Regions from separate parts of the Homo sapiens genome. Here regions 1, 2 and 4 are each linked to region 3. The links are contacts of gene promoters, found by promoter capture Hi-C in blood cells and fetal thymus (Javierre and others, 2016). All regions are on one chromosome and are shown on one strand. Each heading gives the region's core, a stretch centred on a gene start or on the middle of the fragment in contact. The rest is flanking DNA. Distances are from core to core; before and after follow the strand shown.

Region 1 (3,676 bases), core at 402-2,901, 280 kb after region 3:
TGAAGATTTTTGTGTCTATGTTCATTAGAGATATTGTCCTGTAGTTTTATTTGTTCATTGTGTCTTTGCCAGATTTTGGTAACAGAGTGATGTTGGCCTCATAGAATGAAAGGGGAGGAGTCCCTTCTTATATTTTGGAATAGTTTAGTAGAACTGATACCAGCTCTTCCTTGTACTTCTGATATAATTCAGCTGTGAATCCATCTTGTCCAGGGCTTTTTTGGTTGGTAAATTTTTTATTACTGATTCAGTATCAGAACTTGATACTGGTTTGTTCAGGGTTTCAGTTTCTTCCCTATTCAATCTTTGGAAATTTTGTGTTTCTAGGAATTTATCCATTTCCTCTAGATGTTCTAATTTATGTGCATAGAAGTCTCTGAGAATCTTTTGTATACCTGTGGGATCGATTGCAATGTCCCCTTTGTTGTTTCTGATTGTGCTTATCTGGATCTTCTGTTTTTCTTTGTTAACCTAGCTAGTGGTCTATCAATCTCGTTTACCCTTTCAAAGAACCAACTTTTGGTTTTGCTGATGCTTTGTATGGAATTTGGGGTCTCAATTAATTCAGTTATCTGATTTTAGTTATTTCTATTCTTCTACATTTGTGCTCAGCTTATTTTTCTTTTTCTAGTTTCTTTACAAGTGATGTTATATCATTAATTTGAGATCTGACTTCTTGAAATAGGCATTTCGTGTTATAAGCTTCTTTTAATGTGGCTTTAGCTGTGTCCCAAAGATTTTGGTATGTGTTTTCTCTGTTTTCACTTATTTCAAAGAACTTTTAAATTTCTGCCTTGATATCATTGTTTACTCAAAAGTTGTTGAGGAGCCAGTTGTTTAATTTCTATGCATTTCTGTGGTTTTGAGAGATCTTCTTGGTATTGTTTTCTGTTTTTATTCTATTTTAGTCCAAAAGTATGACTGGTATGATTTTTTTCTTTTTAATTTATTGAGACTTGCTTTCTGGCTGAGTGTATAGGGTCAATCTTCAAGTATGTCCTGTGTGCATATGAAGGATGTATGTGTTCTGTGGTTGATGGGTGGAATATTCTGTAGATGTCTATTAGGTCCAGTTGGTCTATTCTGTAGATGCCTATTAGGTTATGTGGAATTGATGTCTAAAATTTCTTTGTGAATTTTCTGCCTCAGGGATCTAATGATGTCCATGGGATGTTGAAATACCTCACTGTTATTATGTGACTAATTCTTTTCTCAGGACTAGAAGCACTTGTTTTATGAATCTCGGTGCTCCGAAGTTTGGTGCATAGGTGTTTAGCATGTGTAGGTATTCTTGTTGAATTGAACCCTTTATCATTATGGAATACATCCTTGTGCTTTTGTATGGTTGTTGGGTTAATATTCTCATTTCTTAAAGAAGTCACAAAATGCCAGGTTCAGTTGCTGGTTTCATCCCAGCACTTTGAGAATCTGAGGCTATAGTATTCCTTGAGGCCAGGAATTTTTGACCAGCCTAAATGACCTAGCAAGACCCTGGTTGTACAAAGAACTTAAAAAATTATTCAGATGTGATGGTGTGTTTTTGTAGTCATAGCCACTTGGGGAAGTGAGGTAGGGTGACTGCTTTAGGCCAGGAATTCGAGGTTCCAGTGAGCTATGATTGTACTCTGGCCTGGTGACAGTGCAAGACCTTGTCTATAAGACAAAGATAGATATTTTAAATTATTTTAAAATTAGTTAATAGATTTCTACTTCTCTAGCTTCACTTGGATATTAATATGTTAGTTAATAGATTTCTGCTTCTTTAGATTCACTTTCATTTTGGTCCCTTTATTGAGCCATGTGTTTTGGTTACTTTGATGTCTTGTGATTTTGTTGATATTTTGATCAAGTAAGAGACAGCTACCTATTCCATCTATTATGGAATGAATTTGTACATGTGAAAACTGATACCCATCAGGTACTCTAGTCATTCTGGGAGATTCTTCATACTGTTGTCAGGATGTTTCTTCTCTGGACTACTGTGTGTATTTTCCTATTAAAAAGGTTTGCTTTTTTCTTTTTCTCTTAGGAGCCTTTAATCTCCCCCTTTGTTGAGTGTCATAGGCACTACTGTCTCTCTGTTCTTGTAACAAGCATTCATGTTTGTTCTCAGTTGACCCGACATATCATTTCAACTATATCACCATTTTCTTCAGCACCACATATTAAAGGAAGCAATGGCCAGTCTTTAGATAGCCCCAGAATAACCCAGAACTTTGGACATATGTTTTGCTCCTTTTATTTTTCTTTCCTGAGAGCGAAACAGAATGCGAAAAATTTTTGTGTAACTGCACTGTGCTGTGGTGCACAAATACAACAAACTTTCTTCCTTCTATATGTGACCATTCTTGGCTTTGTGTTCACCTAGGTGCTGCAAACTCACCTGGCTTTAGTCACCCTATTACATTTAAGTTCATATATCAATTGAGAAAACAAAGGGGCCTCAAGTTTTTGATTCAACTATCATGGTGTTCTCAACGTGATATAATTTGTGTATTAGATTTATAAAGTATTTTCACCTGAATTTAGTAATTGGAATTTTGAAAACTTTTGGTATCTTTCAGATATCTTTTCTCATGATACTCAAGGCCTCTTAAGAAAGAAGCTTATAGAAGCATCATTCCAAAAAGTGATATTGGATGGATATGGGAGCTGTGGCCCTCAGAATTTAAACTTAAGGAAAGAGTGGGAAAGTGAGGGTAAGTGTGAAGGTCACAATGGATATTATGATGGACATACAAAATGTAAGACAACTACCTATAACAAAAACCTCACTGTTACAGGAGGTCAAAAACATGAAAAAACTCAATTTATGTCAGTTGCTTTTTCTAAACCATGTGTTTCTGTAAGTAAGTGTCAACATCAATTTTTGAAACTTACCTTTTCTTTTAAAGGAAATTTGGATAATCCGAATAGTGACTTAGTCCATGTTTCAAATAATCATTTAAACCAATTAAAATATAGAACTGGAGTAAATGTTCAGTCAAATATTTCTGAAAAGGAGAGATTTAAAAACGAGGAGGTGATTTCTAAATATGATCAATTTGATGGATCTTTGTTAAAAGTTTGTTTCACCAACAAATAACACCTCGTTCTGCCTGTGATCAATATAGAAAGGTCTTCATTCATTCATCATTGCTTAATCAATGTCAAGGAATAGATAATTTGGGAAAATATCACACACATAATAAAACTTTGACAGCCTTTAGGCAGGACTATACCCTAAATAATTACCAGTATATTTGTGTTGCAGAGAAAAATCAGTACAATAAATCTGATACAACATTAAGCCAAGGCATAAGCCCCAGAAGACATCAGAAAACTCATTTTCTACATAACCATTGCAAACGTAAAAAATGTGAGAAAGCCTTTCATGAATGCACCAACCATGTCCATCAGAGTATCTTTATTCAAGAGAAGTCTGCCAAATGTAATAAGTGTATAGAAACTTTTATCCAGTCATCAAAACATACTCAGCCTCAGAGAATCCATATTGGAGAAAAGTCACACAGATGTAATAATGGTGAGAAAATCCTTAGTAAATTGTCAAGTCTAAGAAAACATAAGATAATCCATAATGAAGAGAAACCTTACAAATGTAAAGAATGTGACAAAGCCTTTAACCATCGTTCACACCTTACTCAACATCAAATAATTCATACTGGAGAGAAACCAT
Region 2 (4,023 bases), core at 157-2,656, 260 kb after region 3:
CTCCTTTGTTAAATGGAATCATAAGAATTTTATACTTTTGATGCTATTATAAATTGGATTGTTTGCTTAACTTTTTTTCTCAGATCATTAATTGTTAGTATATAGAAATGCAACTAATTTTTGTATGGTAATTTTGTGACCTCAGCTTTACTGAATGAGTATTAGCTCTAACTCTTTTTGTATACTCTTTAGGGTTTTCTGTATATAAAATCACCTAATCTGCAAGCAGAGAAAATTACAATTCTTCGTTGCTGATATGAGTGCCTTTTATTTCTTTTTTTTACCTAATTGCTCTTGTTGCAGGGCAGGTGAGCCCCCAGATTGGGGCTTATCCTGGGAAGGTTCACGGCTTCACTCAGGAAGAATTCAAGTGCAAGATAGTGGTAGAAGAAAACAGCTTTATTGAGCTGGCAGTGTTGCAGCTCTATGACTGCTCCTGTGGAGCGAGGCTACCCTGTAGGCAGTGTGCTGAGAGGAGCAGTTCTGCAGTCATGTACTTATATACCCACTTTTCATTACATGCAAACTAAGGGGCAGTGTTTTTTCCCTTCAATTTTTTGGAAGAATTTGAGAAGGATGGACATTAATTCATCTTTAAATGTGTGATACAATTCACCCATGAATTCATTTGGTCATGGGCTTTTTCTCATTGGATTTTTTTATAACTGCTTCAATCTCCTTTCTTATTATTGGTCTGTTCAGTGTTTCTGTTTCTTTGTGATTTAATCTTGGTGAGTCATTCATTTCTAAGAATCTGTTTCTTCTAAGTTATCCAATTTGTTGTCATATAATTGTTCATAGTAGTCTCTTATTATTCTTTGTGTGTTGTCAGTTGTAATGACTCATCCTTCTTTCTTTTATGTATTTATTTATTTATTTATTTGAGACAGGGTCTCACTCTGATGTCCAAACCAAAGTGCAGTGGCATGATCATAACTCACTGCAGCCTCAACCTCCCAGGCTCATGTTATTCTCCCATCTCCCAAGTAGCTGGGACTACAGGGGTGTACCACCATGCTCAGCTAATTTTTGTATTTTTTAGAGAGAAGGGTTTCATTATGTTGCCCAGGCTGGTCTCCAAATCCTGGGCTCAAGTGATTTACCTGCCATGGCCTCCAAAAGCACTGGGATTACAAGCATGAGGAAGTGCACCCAGCCCACTTATAATTTTTTGAGTCCTCTCTCTTTTTGATCCTTTGCTTAATCTGGCCAAAAGTTTCTCAATTTTGTTTTCTTTGAAAAACTCAATTCAGTTTCTTTGATCTTTTCTATTGCCTTTCTAGTCTTTATTTAGTCTCTTTTTGTTCTAATTCTTACTATTTTCATAATTATGCTAACATTGGGATTATTTTGTTCATGTTCAAGTTTCTTGAGGAATTGAGTTAGATTGCTTATTCAACATCTTTTTTTTTCTTAATGTAGAACTTTATTATTATAAACTTCTGTACTAGAACTGTTTTGGTTGCATCACAGAAGTTTTGGTTTCTTGTGTTTCCAATTTCATTTGTCTCAGGATATGTTTAGATTTTTCTTTTGATTTCTTCTTCATCCTATTGATTTTTCAGGAGTGTGTTGTTTAATATTTACGTATTTGTGAATTTCCAGTTTTCTTTCTGCTATTGATTTTCAGTTTTATATCAGTGCAATCAGAAAAAAAAACTTGATATAATTTTAATCTTTATACATTTGAAAAGACTTACTGCTTTTTACTTTTGGTTTAACATGTGATCTGTCCTGGAGAATATTTCATGTATTCTTAGAAGACTGTATTCTCATATTGTTGGATGGGATGTTATATGTACATTTAGTCTATAGTGTTATAGTAGTGCACTGCTTTCTTAATTTTGTGCCTGAATGATCTATCCATTTTAAGTAGGGTACTAATGTTCTCTTTTGTTGTATTTCTGTATATTTCTCCTTCCAGTTCTGTTAATGTATGCTTTATATATTTAAGTATTCCAGTGTTGGGTGCATATATCTATTTAATTGCTCTATCCTCTAGACAAATTAACCTCTCTATTATTATATAGTTAACTCCTTTGTCTCTTGTGACAGATTTTGTCAGACAGCCTGTTTTGTCTAATGTAAGTATAGCTACCCCTGCCTGCACTCTTTTGTTTATCATTTGTATGGAATATCCTTTCCAGTTCTTTCACTGTTAGCTTATGTTTGTCCTTAAATCAAAAGTGAGTCTCTTGTAAGCAACCTGTCACTGGATTTTTAAAAATTCATTCAGCCACTGTCTGTTTTAAATCCATTTTGTGCTGCTATATCAGAATATTCACAGGGTATTTTATAATGAAATGGGTGATTTATAAGGAATACAAATTAATTTAGCCTGTGATTCTGGAGGCAGGGAAGGCAGAGAGCATGACACTGGCATCTGGTGAAGACCTTTTTGCTGCATAATAACATGGCCAAAGGCACGAGGGGGAGAGAGCTCCCTTTTATAACAAACGCACACTTGTGATAATTAACCCACTGCTGTGATAAGGACATTAATACATTCATGCAGGCAGAGCTCTCATGGCCTAATCACTTCTTAAAAGTCCCACTTCTTAATTCTATCACAGTGGCTATTAAATTTTAACCTAAATTTTGGAAGTGACATTCAGTCTTTATCAATGTCTGTTTATTGGATAATTTAATCTCTTTATATGTAATTATTGATAGGTAACTATTATAAGTTTGTTTTCTATTTTATACTTTGTTTCTTTTTTCCTCTTATGCTTTGGTCATGTTAATTTTTTGTCTTGTTTTTGTTGTTTTTATATACTTTGATTACTTTCTTTTTTTCTTGTATCTACTACAGTTTTTTTTTCTCTAGTGGTTATAAGACTTACATAAAACATCATATAACAGCCTAGTTTAAGATGATAATTATCCAACTTTTATGCATAGAAAAACTCTATGCTTTTCCTCCCCTTCACACATTTTATACTATATATGTCACATTTTAAAACTTTTTATATTTTGTATTCATTAACAAATTATCATAGCTATACTTTTAAAAAATAGTTTTGTTTTATAGTTCTTATACTAGAATTAAAAGTGACTTATGTACCACCATTACAATATTCGAGTATTCTGAATTTCACTATTTACCATTTCCAGTGATGTTTGTAGTTTTAATGTTTTCATATTTAGTTAGCATTTCATCACTTCAACTTGAGTAATTCCCTTTAGTCGTTTAGCATTTCTAGACAGGTCTAGTGGTGATGAATTCCTTTAATTTTTTTTTTGGTGGGGGGGTCTTGAAATGTCTTCATCTCTCTTTTATTTCTAAAAGATGCTTTGTTGTGTATAGCCTACTTAGTTGTCTTTTTTGTTTGTTTGTTTGTTTAATTTTCCTTCTTTCAGCACTTTTAATATATGGTATCACTCCCATTTGGCCTGTAAGGTTTCTGCTAAAAAATCTACTGATAACATTATAAAGTTTCCCTTGTATGTGAAGAATCTCTTATTTCATGCTGCTTTCATGATTCTTGCTTTGTCTTTGAATTTTGACAGTTTAATTATGATATGCCCCAGGGGAATCTTCATTAGGTTCTTCTTGCCATGGGTATTTTGAGCTTTATGAAACTTCTTGTTCATATCCTTTTCCAGATTTGGGGAGTTTTAAGACATTATATCTTTAATCTTTTTTCTTCTTTCTTTCTTCTTCTGAAAATCCTAAAATATGTATATTTGTTCACTTTATGATATACTATACAGGCTATATGCTTCCTTCATGCTTTCATATTTTTTTCTAATTGATTACTTTCAAATGACCTGTCTTTAAGTTTGCTGATTTTTTTCTTCTTTCATGATTGAGTCTCTTGTTAAAACTGTTAGATTTTTTCAGTTCTTTCATTGTTCGCTTTAGTTCCAAGATTTCTATCTGGTTCCTTTTAATGGTTTCTATTTCTCTGTTAAAACTCTCATTTTGTTCAAGTATTGTATTATAAAACTTTTTAGTTATCTATCTGTGTTCTTTTGCATCTCATTGAAATTCTTTAAGATGATTATTTTGAATTCTTTGTC
Region 3 (3,714 bases), core at 391-2,890:
GCTGGGACTACAGGTGCCCACCACCATGTCTGGCTAATTTTTTTGTGTGTTTTTAGTAGAGACTGTTTTCACCATGTTAGCCAGGCTGGTCTCGAACTCCTGACCTCAGGGGATCCACCCACCTCGGCCTTCCAAAGTGTTAGGATTACAGGTGTGAGCCACTGCTCCTTGCCTAATTACCTGTCTTTTTTGTTATTGCCATCCTAATAGGTATGATGTGGCATCTCATTGTAGTTTTGATTTGCATTTCTCTGGGGACTAATGATGTTGAGGATCTTTTCATGTAATCATTGGCTATTTATATAACTTCTTTGAACTGTCTATTCAGGTCGTTTGCCCATTTTTTCTTCTTTTTCTTTTTTATTCTTGACACAGGGTCTCCTCTGTTGCTCAGGAGTTCAGTGGCACAATCTCAGCTCACTGCAGCCTCTGCCTCCAGGTTTCAAGCAATTCTCCTGTCTCAGCCTCCCAAGTAGCTGGAATTACAGGCTCCCACCACCACGCACAGCTAATTTTGTGTTTTTAGTAGAGATGGGGTTTTGTCATGTTGGCCAGGCTGGTCTCGAACTCCTGACCTCAAGTGACCTGCCCGCCTTGACCTCCCAAAGTGCTAGGATTATAGGTGTGAGCCACCATGCCTGTCTCGCATTTTTAAAAAGCTCCCCAGGTTGTTCCGATTTGCTGCTGGGTTGATACTCACATTCCAGTGCTCAGATCTGTCCAGAAGAGTGGCTGCAGCACAGTTGTCTGTCCATAACTACCTCTATGGCCTCTCGTTTCCACCTCGTTTCTCAGGGTCTCAGTCCAGGGAAGGCCTTGCCACTTTGTGGCTGGAGACTGTGTCTTGCTTTCTGCTCTGAGTTCATCAGTAACTTGGGAAAGGGCTGTTTCAGAGCAGGCCTGGGCCACCTCAGTGCTGAGGAAGGGCTTTGTCTTGCAGGCTGGCTGGGGGTTGGTTGCCTGGGAGTGTTTTCCCCGAATTTGCAAGGGGCTTGCGCCCGGGTTCGAGTTTACGTGTGTCCATGACCAAGTCTTGGAGGGAAGGTCCTAGTGTAGAGTCTGTGGGTGGGTTCACTGTGTCTGTCCCCGTCCCTCAGATTTCTTTGTGTCTGGTATGTATGCCTCTTGGGGCCTCTATTTATCTGTCAGGGTCTCCGATGGGAGGGTCTCCGAACCTGAGGTCTAATTGAGCCTTAGAATATCACTCCTGCTACCAATCCAAAAATTCCGTCTGGGACAAGTCTCCCAGGAATGGCATGGGTGGGAGGGAGGCTCTTGTCTAGGACTCAGGCGCTAGCTTTGAGCGGTGTCTGTTTGGGGGCCTCAGTCCGTGTCTGTAAGTCTCCCTAGGGAGCGGCTCTGGGGCTTGGTCTGGAGAAGCCACTTCTCTCTGGCTCTGGCCTCCTGGGGCTCCCTGCAGCTGAGGCCAAGGCTGGGGTGTGGCCGCCTCCGCGGCAGGCCGGCGGGCTGGGCTCGGGTGGGCCGGGGCGCTCCCTCCTTTCCACGCCCCCACCTCGGGTTCCCCCGTTCATCGCCCCCCCATCCCCATCTCAGCGGGTCCCGGCTTCCTTACATGGTCACGGCCGGGCTTCCAGCTCCCGGACGTCCCCCGCCCCCCGCCCCCACCGGACACGGCCCCCGCCCTGTTCGCCCCGCGCCACCGGCCCGCGCCCCGCCATGGAGGACCTGGGTGAGTGGGGCCGGATCCCCGGGTCCGTGGCCCCTCACCGCTGCCCAGAGCTGCCTCCCCGCCGTCGCTCTCCCGCATCTCCCCATCCCTGTCTTCTTACTTCTGCTTTTCGCCTCTGCCCGCGCCTCCTTTCCAACTCCACGTCCCCCTTCCTGCCTCTCCCTTCCTGCCTTTCCTGGGCCGGCCGCTCCCTCCCTTCTTCCCTCGCTGTGCTCCTCCATCCCAGGCTGCGGCAGATGGAACGGGAGGTGCGGCGCCCGCGGGCGCCCGGGCGCGGGGCTCTGGGGAGGGAGGGGTTAAAGGGGCCTCGGCCCGGGGACCGGGAAAGTAGAGGGCACGGGAAAGTCTGGCATCAAGTTTTGGAGAAAAAAAGCGGGCCTGCCTGCACCAGAGTTTTGGGAGAGGAGGAGTTAAGGGCTCCTGAGCACAGTGAGGGTCAGGTCCTTGAGGCAAGGAAGAGAATAGTAACTCAGGAGTGCCTAGGCGCCCGCGAAGGCTTCAGGGTTTCACGCGGGTGCTCAGAGACGAAGACTGAGGGCAGGACTTCTGGGTTCTGGAAGTGAAAGGGCTCAAAAGACCCGGATCTGGGGATGCAGGGATGGAGAGAGGTGTCTTGTCCGGAAGGGGGACCCAGGTATCTCGTCCTCCCTGCGAAGCCTGGGGCTGGAAGGCTGTGCGCTCCACGGGAGAGAGGGGCTTCCGGCCCCTGGCGGTAGAGGGCGCTGCTCGGTAGGGGTAACTGACGCTGTACCGCAGATAAACAGCCAATCAGAAGGCAGGTCCCAGCGAAGCGCCAGTGAGGAGCCCAGGGCGGGACTCAGGGGCCTGGGAGTGGCCAGGCTGGGCGGGGCCTGTGTAGGTAGAGGGAGGAGTTAACCAGCATGGAAGAGAGAGCGTCCAATCAGAAAGCTGAGGGCCAGGCACTGGGCCAATGGAGCAATTTGGAGGGGAGCCAAATTTGGCTTGGGTGAAGAGCCCATTTTGACTGCATCAGAGAAGATGGGGAGAATAAAATAATCAGGAGGCTGGGTTTGTGCTTGGCTCCAAGCGTGAGCAACTGGGATATTCTGGTCATAAATATTCCTTGCTACCCTTCGAGCAGTGCTCTGCCTGGCTCTGGCCCTGTGACCTCTTCTCTTAATACTGGCTTCTGTCCTTCTCCAGTACTGCCCACTGGGAACCTTATCTTCTGATCTAACCGTGACCCTTGTCTCTCTCCCTGATGGCCTCTTCCTGCAGATGCCCTGCTCTCTGACCTGGAGACTACCACCTCGCACATGCCAAGGTCAGGGGCTCCCAAAGAGCGCCCTGCGGAGCCTCTCACCCCTCCCCCATCCTATGGCCACCAGCCACAGGTGAGATCGGATGTTGGGGACTGGGGCAGCCACTAGGGCCAGGCTCGGCCTGGTCTATGGGGATCTCAGCCTCAGTGGGGCAGAGTGCAGGCCTGTCATCCCACCTGTGCGTCTCCGCTCTGTAGACAGGGTCTGGGGAGTCTTCAGGAGCCTCGGGGGACAAGGACCACCTGTACAGGTGAGGGGCCTGGAAACCAGGGCATGGGGGCCAACTGAGTCTCAGGTGAGGAGGCTTGGATTCCCCACCCCTGAACCCAGGCTCCCACTCTGCTTCCCAGCACGGTATGCAAGCCTCGGTCCCCAAAGCCTGCAGCCCCGGCGGCCCCTCCATTCTCCTCTTCCAGCGGTGTCTTGGGTACCGGGCTCTGTGAGCTAGATCGGTTGCTTCAGGAACTTAATGCCACTCAGTTCAACATCACAGGTACCAGGGTGACTGAGAGAGGCCTTGATGCGATAGGGGCAGGGGAGGGAAGGGTGGGGCAGAGACTAAGAGGAATACACTTCCCAGAGTAGCAGTTAAAGGGACCTAAAGCCTCAAGTGTGAGGGTGCGTTGAGCATGGCCCTATATGTAGCGTCCTCCTCTCCTCTCTCCAGATGAAATCATGTCTCAGTTCCCATCTAGCAAGGTGGCTTCAGGAGAGCAGAAGGAGGACCAGTCTGAAGATAAG
Region 4 (3,767 bases), core at 226-2,725, 280 kb before region 3:
GGAGAGTAACTGAGTGCTGCAGGAGTTTGTGGAGTGGAGTCAGGATCTAGGAGGTGAGTGACTCCCTTCCTAGCTGCCCTGGTGAACAGCGCTTGGGTAGATACCTGCTATAAGGAGACTGGTCTGGCTGGGTTACTTTCACATCCTGCCTGTACTCAGAGGGCTTGAGGTCATTGACATTATGAGATTTTAGGCTTGATCCCTTTTTGATTGGAGGGTGGAAGGCCCTCCTAAGGGAATGATAAGTGATAAGAGGGGGAAGGGGTTGCAGCCAATGAGTTAAAACCTTAGAGCAGTGCTCCTCAGCCTCTTACCATGTGGTTGTAAACTTGCACGTACCTGCCAACCAGTTATTTAGCATGCTTTTTATTTTAGTTACACAGAGCGTAACATTAACCCAAGAGCAGAAAGGTTTTATTTACAGGGTTTTCGAACTTGGTTTGTAAGACAGCTGCCATCACAAGCATAGCTTACAAATGTGCTGGGGACCCCTAATTGGGAAGTGCTTTCCTCTCAAATTTTTATTTTTTATTTTTAGAGACAGAGTCTTGCTCTGTCATCCAGGCTGGAGTGCAGTGGCGTGATCTCGGCTCACTGTAGCCTCTGCCTCCTGAGTTTAAGCGATTCTCCTGCCTCAGGAGAATCCCAGCTTCTGAGTAGCTGAGACTACAGGCGTGGGCCACCATGCCCACCTAGTTTTTGCATTTTTAGTGGAGGTGTGGTTTCACTGTGTTGGCCAGGCTGGTCTCTTAACTCCTGACCTCAGGTGATCCACCTGCCTTGGCCTCCCAAAGTGCTGGAATTACAGGCATGAGCCGCTGCATCTGGCCATCCTCTCAAATTTTCAAGTGTTCCACAAGTATGTTCTCTACTGAAGAGTTGCTGCATCCTTGAATCTTGGGTGATTTGAGGCACAGAAACTATGACTTTATTTTTTGAGATGGAGTTTTGCTCTTGTTGCCCAGGCTGGAGTGCAATGGCACGTTTTTCGGCTTACCGCAACTGCCGCCTCCTGGGTTCAAGCGATAGCTGGGATTACAGGCATGCGCCACCATGCCCAGCTAATTTATTTGTATTTTTAGTAGAGACGGGGTTTCTCCATGTTGGTCAGGCTGGTCTCGAACTCCCGACCTCAGGTGATGTGCACACCTCAGCCTCCCAATAAACCATGACTTTTAAGAGGAATAGCAGGTTTACTTCCCCTGCCAGCATTGGGGTGCTCTCTAAGCAACAGTAGGCGGAGAGTGGTCTGGCGTATTAAAAACAAAGGATCGTCAAGTGGGCCTTCCCAGGCATTGCTTTGACTTAGTACATGTAGAGGATGTGGCAGTTCTCTCCGTCCCTGCCACTGCTGGTTTCTTTGTTAAATGTTTAGTTGAAATGGCCTGATACGATATTTGAGTAGTTCACTGTTGGTGCTTTGCCTAGCAGGATTCTAATCTTGCTTTGGTTGTGGTCCCCTGATGCCCTCCTGTTAGGAGTGGAGGAGGTCGAAGCTCCTTGTAAGATATGATTACTGGGACCATTAGTGTCAAGTTCCTGTGTCCTTCAAATGGCATATGTGATTGGCCTTGACCTTAAAAGGAAATAGGGTCCCAGGTGACTGTTTAGTGGGTAGGTCCAGTTTGGGGGGATCTTCCAGGAGAATGGATAGAGACACCTAGCAGCAGAGAGAACATTGGTGCCTCTCAAGCCAACCTCCCACCTCAGCCTCCCAAGTAGCTGGGACTACAGGTGCTTCCTCGCTACCACACCTGGGTAATTTTTTTTTTAATTACTTTTTTTTTTTTAAGAAACAGGGTTTCACTGGGTTGCCCAGGCTGGTCTTGAACTGGCCTCAAGTGACCTGCCTGCCTCAGCCTCCCAAAGTGCTGGGATCACAGGTGTGACCCACTGCGTTTGGCCAGAATACTCTATTCTTACTGAATGATTGAAATCTGTCTTGAAGCATTAGGTGTCCCATTTTTGTGAGTTGGAATTGGGACAGGCTAAGTAGGAAGTGAGGAGGGTGGGGAGAGCTGTGCTGTAGGTCTGTTTGTCCCTTCCTTGATGTAGCCTTCAGTTAGCCCTTTCAGCTTTTTTCCCCATCTTGTGCCGGGCCTTCCTGGGTTTCAGTACTTGGATGTAGGGCTGCAGTTATGTCAGTGGTGGGTAGATTGACCAGGAATTAAGGTCTAGGGTCCAGCCCATGTGAGACTTGACTCACTGATCTACCTTTAGGCATGTCTTCCTTCCAGTCTCATCCTTTTTAAATTTTTTTTTTTTTTTTGAGACGGTCTCACTCTCACCCAGGCTGGATTGCAGTGGTGTGATCTCGACCAACTGCAACCTCTGCCTCCCACCCGCAAGCTATCTGCCCACCTCAGCCTCTGGAGTAGCTGGGACGGGACTACAGGCACCTGCCACCATGACTGGCTAATTTTTTTTTGTATTTTTTGTGGAGATGGGGTCTTGCCATGTTGCTCAGGCTGGTCTGGTCTCAAAACTGCTCTGGGCTCAAGTGATTGTCCCACTTTGGCCTCCCAGAGTGCTGGGATTAAGGTGTGAGATACTGTGTCCGGCTATGAAAATTTTATTTTTAATTAACTTGTATATATTTATGGGGTACAATGTCCTATTTCTGTACATGTACACATTGTGGAATCAAATCAGGCTAATATATCCATCACTTCATATCATTAGCATGAATGAGAACATACAAAGCCACTCTTAGAAAATTTTGAAATTTATGTTATTTCAGCCCTTTTATGCTGGAGGTTGCAAATGTTTTGTGAATAATCAGACCAAAAATAAAAACAAAAAATGATTGACTTCAGTCATTCAGTAAGAATAGTGTGTTCTGGCCGAGTGTGGTGGGTCACACCTGTAATGGAGCACTAGGCGTAAATGGGTTGAAACGGGTCTCCCTATGTTGCTCAGGCTGGACTTGAACTCCTGGGCTTAAGTGATCTTCTTGCCCTTAGCCTCTCAGCTGGGACTATGGATGCATGCCACTGTGTCTCACGTTTTTATGAACTGTAGTCACCATGCTGTGCAGTGGCTTACCAGAACTCATTTCTTGCATCTGAAGTGTTGTACCCTTTGTCTCCCTGCTTACCCATACCTCCAAGCCTCTGGTAACCCCCATTCTACTTTCAGTTTCCGAGTTTGACTTTCTAGATTCCGTGTATAAGTTCATGCAGTCTTTCTGTGGCTTATTTTAGCATAATGTCTTCTAGATTTATCGATTCACCCATGTTACAAATAACGGTTTCCTTTTAAAAAGCTGAATAGCATTCTGTTGTGTCTACATACCACATTTAAAAATCCATCCGTTAATTGGGCACTTGGGTTGCTTGCATATCTTGGCTAGTGTGAATAACGCTGCATTGGGTGGGAGTGCAGACATCTCTGACGTACAGATTTCTTTTTTCTTTTTTGGAGACAGAGTCTTGCCCTGCCACCCAGGCTGGAGTGCAGTGGTAGGATCTTGGCTCACTGCAACCTCTGCCTTCCAGATTCAAGTGATTCTCCTGCCTTAGCCTCCCAGGTAGCTGGGATTACAGGTGTGCACCACCATGCCCAGCTAACTCTTGTATTTTTAGTAGAGATGGGGTTTCTCCATGTTGGCCAGGCTGGTCTCAGTGGGCCCCAGCGATCCTTCCGCCTCGGGCTCCTGAATGACTGGGACTACAGGTGTGCTACTGCACCTGGCTATTTTGAAATAATTTGACTTAGAAGAATATTTCTACAATTGTGTTCACCTTCTTATGCAAATACAATCTTCA

What was found. The method cuts DNA at HindIII sites, captures the fragments that hold promoters and counts their contacts. A CHiCAGO score of 5 or more calls a contact.
Region 1: a fragment that was not itself captured here is called in contact with the fragment with the promoter of TGFB1I1 in region 3 in 1 of 17 cell types (naive CD8 T cells); the score reaches 5.6 in naive CD8 T cells.
Region 2: a contact is called between a fragment that was not itself captured here and the fragment with the promoter of TGFB1I1 in region 3, in 3 of 17 cell types (activated CD4 T cells, total CD8 T cells and erythroblasts). The highest score is 8.2, in activated CD4 T cells.
Region 4: a contact is called between a fragment that was not itself captured here and the fragment with the promoter of TGFB1I1 in region 3, in 4 of 17 cell types (naive CD8 T cells, naive CD4 T cells, endothelial precursors and 1 more). The highest score is 7.0, in naive CD8 T cells.

The regions. Positions count from the first base shown.
Region 1 is chr16:31,751,202-31,754,877 of GRCh38, forward strand. It overlaps KRABD5 (KRAB domain containing 5), which reads left to right. Exons shown (of 5, transcript NM_001130913.2): 4 at 2,565-2,699. Among named protein-coding and RNA genes, the nearest start is that of KRABD5, 40 kb to the left of the region's middle. The HindIII fragment of the contact is 1,903 bases long and covers 701-2,603 here.
Region 2 is chr16:31,726,997-31,731,019 of GRCh38, forward strand. The region is part of intron 3 of KRABD5 (KRAB domain containing 5); the gene reads left to right. Among named protein-coding and RNA genes, the nearest start is that of KRABD5, 16 kb to the left of the region's middle. The HindIII fragment of the contact is 8,496 bases long and covers 1-4,023 here.
Region 3 is chr16:31,470,512-31,474,225 of GRCh38, forward strand. TGFB1I1 (transforming growth factor beta 1 induced transcript 1) reads left to right here and starts at 1,641. Exons shown (of 11, transcript NM_001042454.3): 1 at 1,641-1,690; 2 at 2,930-3,045; 3 at 3,171-3,223; 4 at 3,324-3,466; 5 at 3,641-3,714. The coding sequence starts at 1,678. RefSeq lists an enhancer at 1,980-2,520. The HindIII fragment of the contact is 20,246 bases long and covers 1-3,714 here.
Region 4 is chr16:31,192,042-31,195,808 of GRCh38, forward strand. It overlaps a transcript of FUS not described here. Among named protein-coding and RNA genes, the nearest start is that of PYCARD-AS1, 8.0 kb to the right of the region's middle. The HindIII fragment of the contact is 5,764 bases long and covers 1-3,767 here.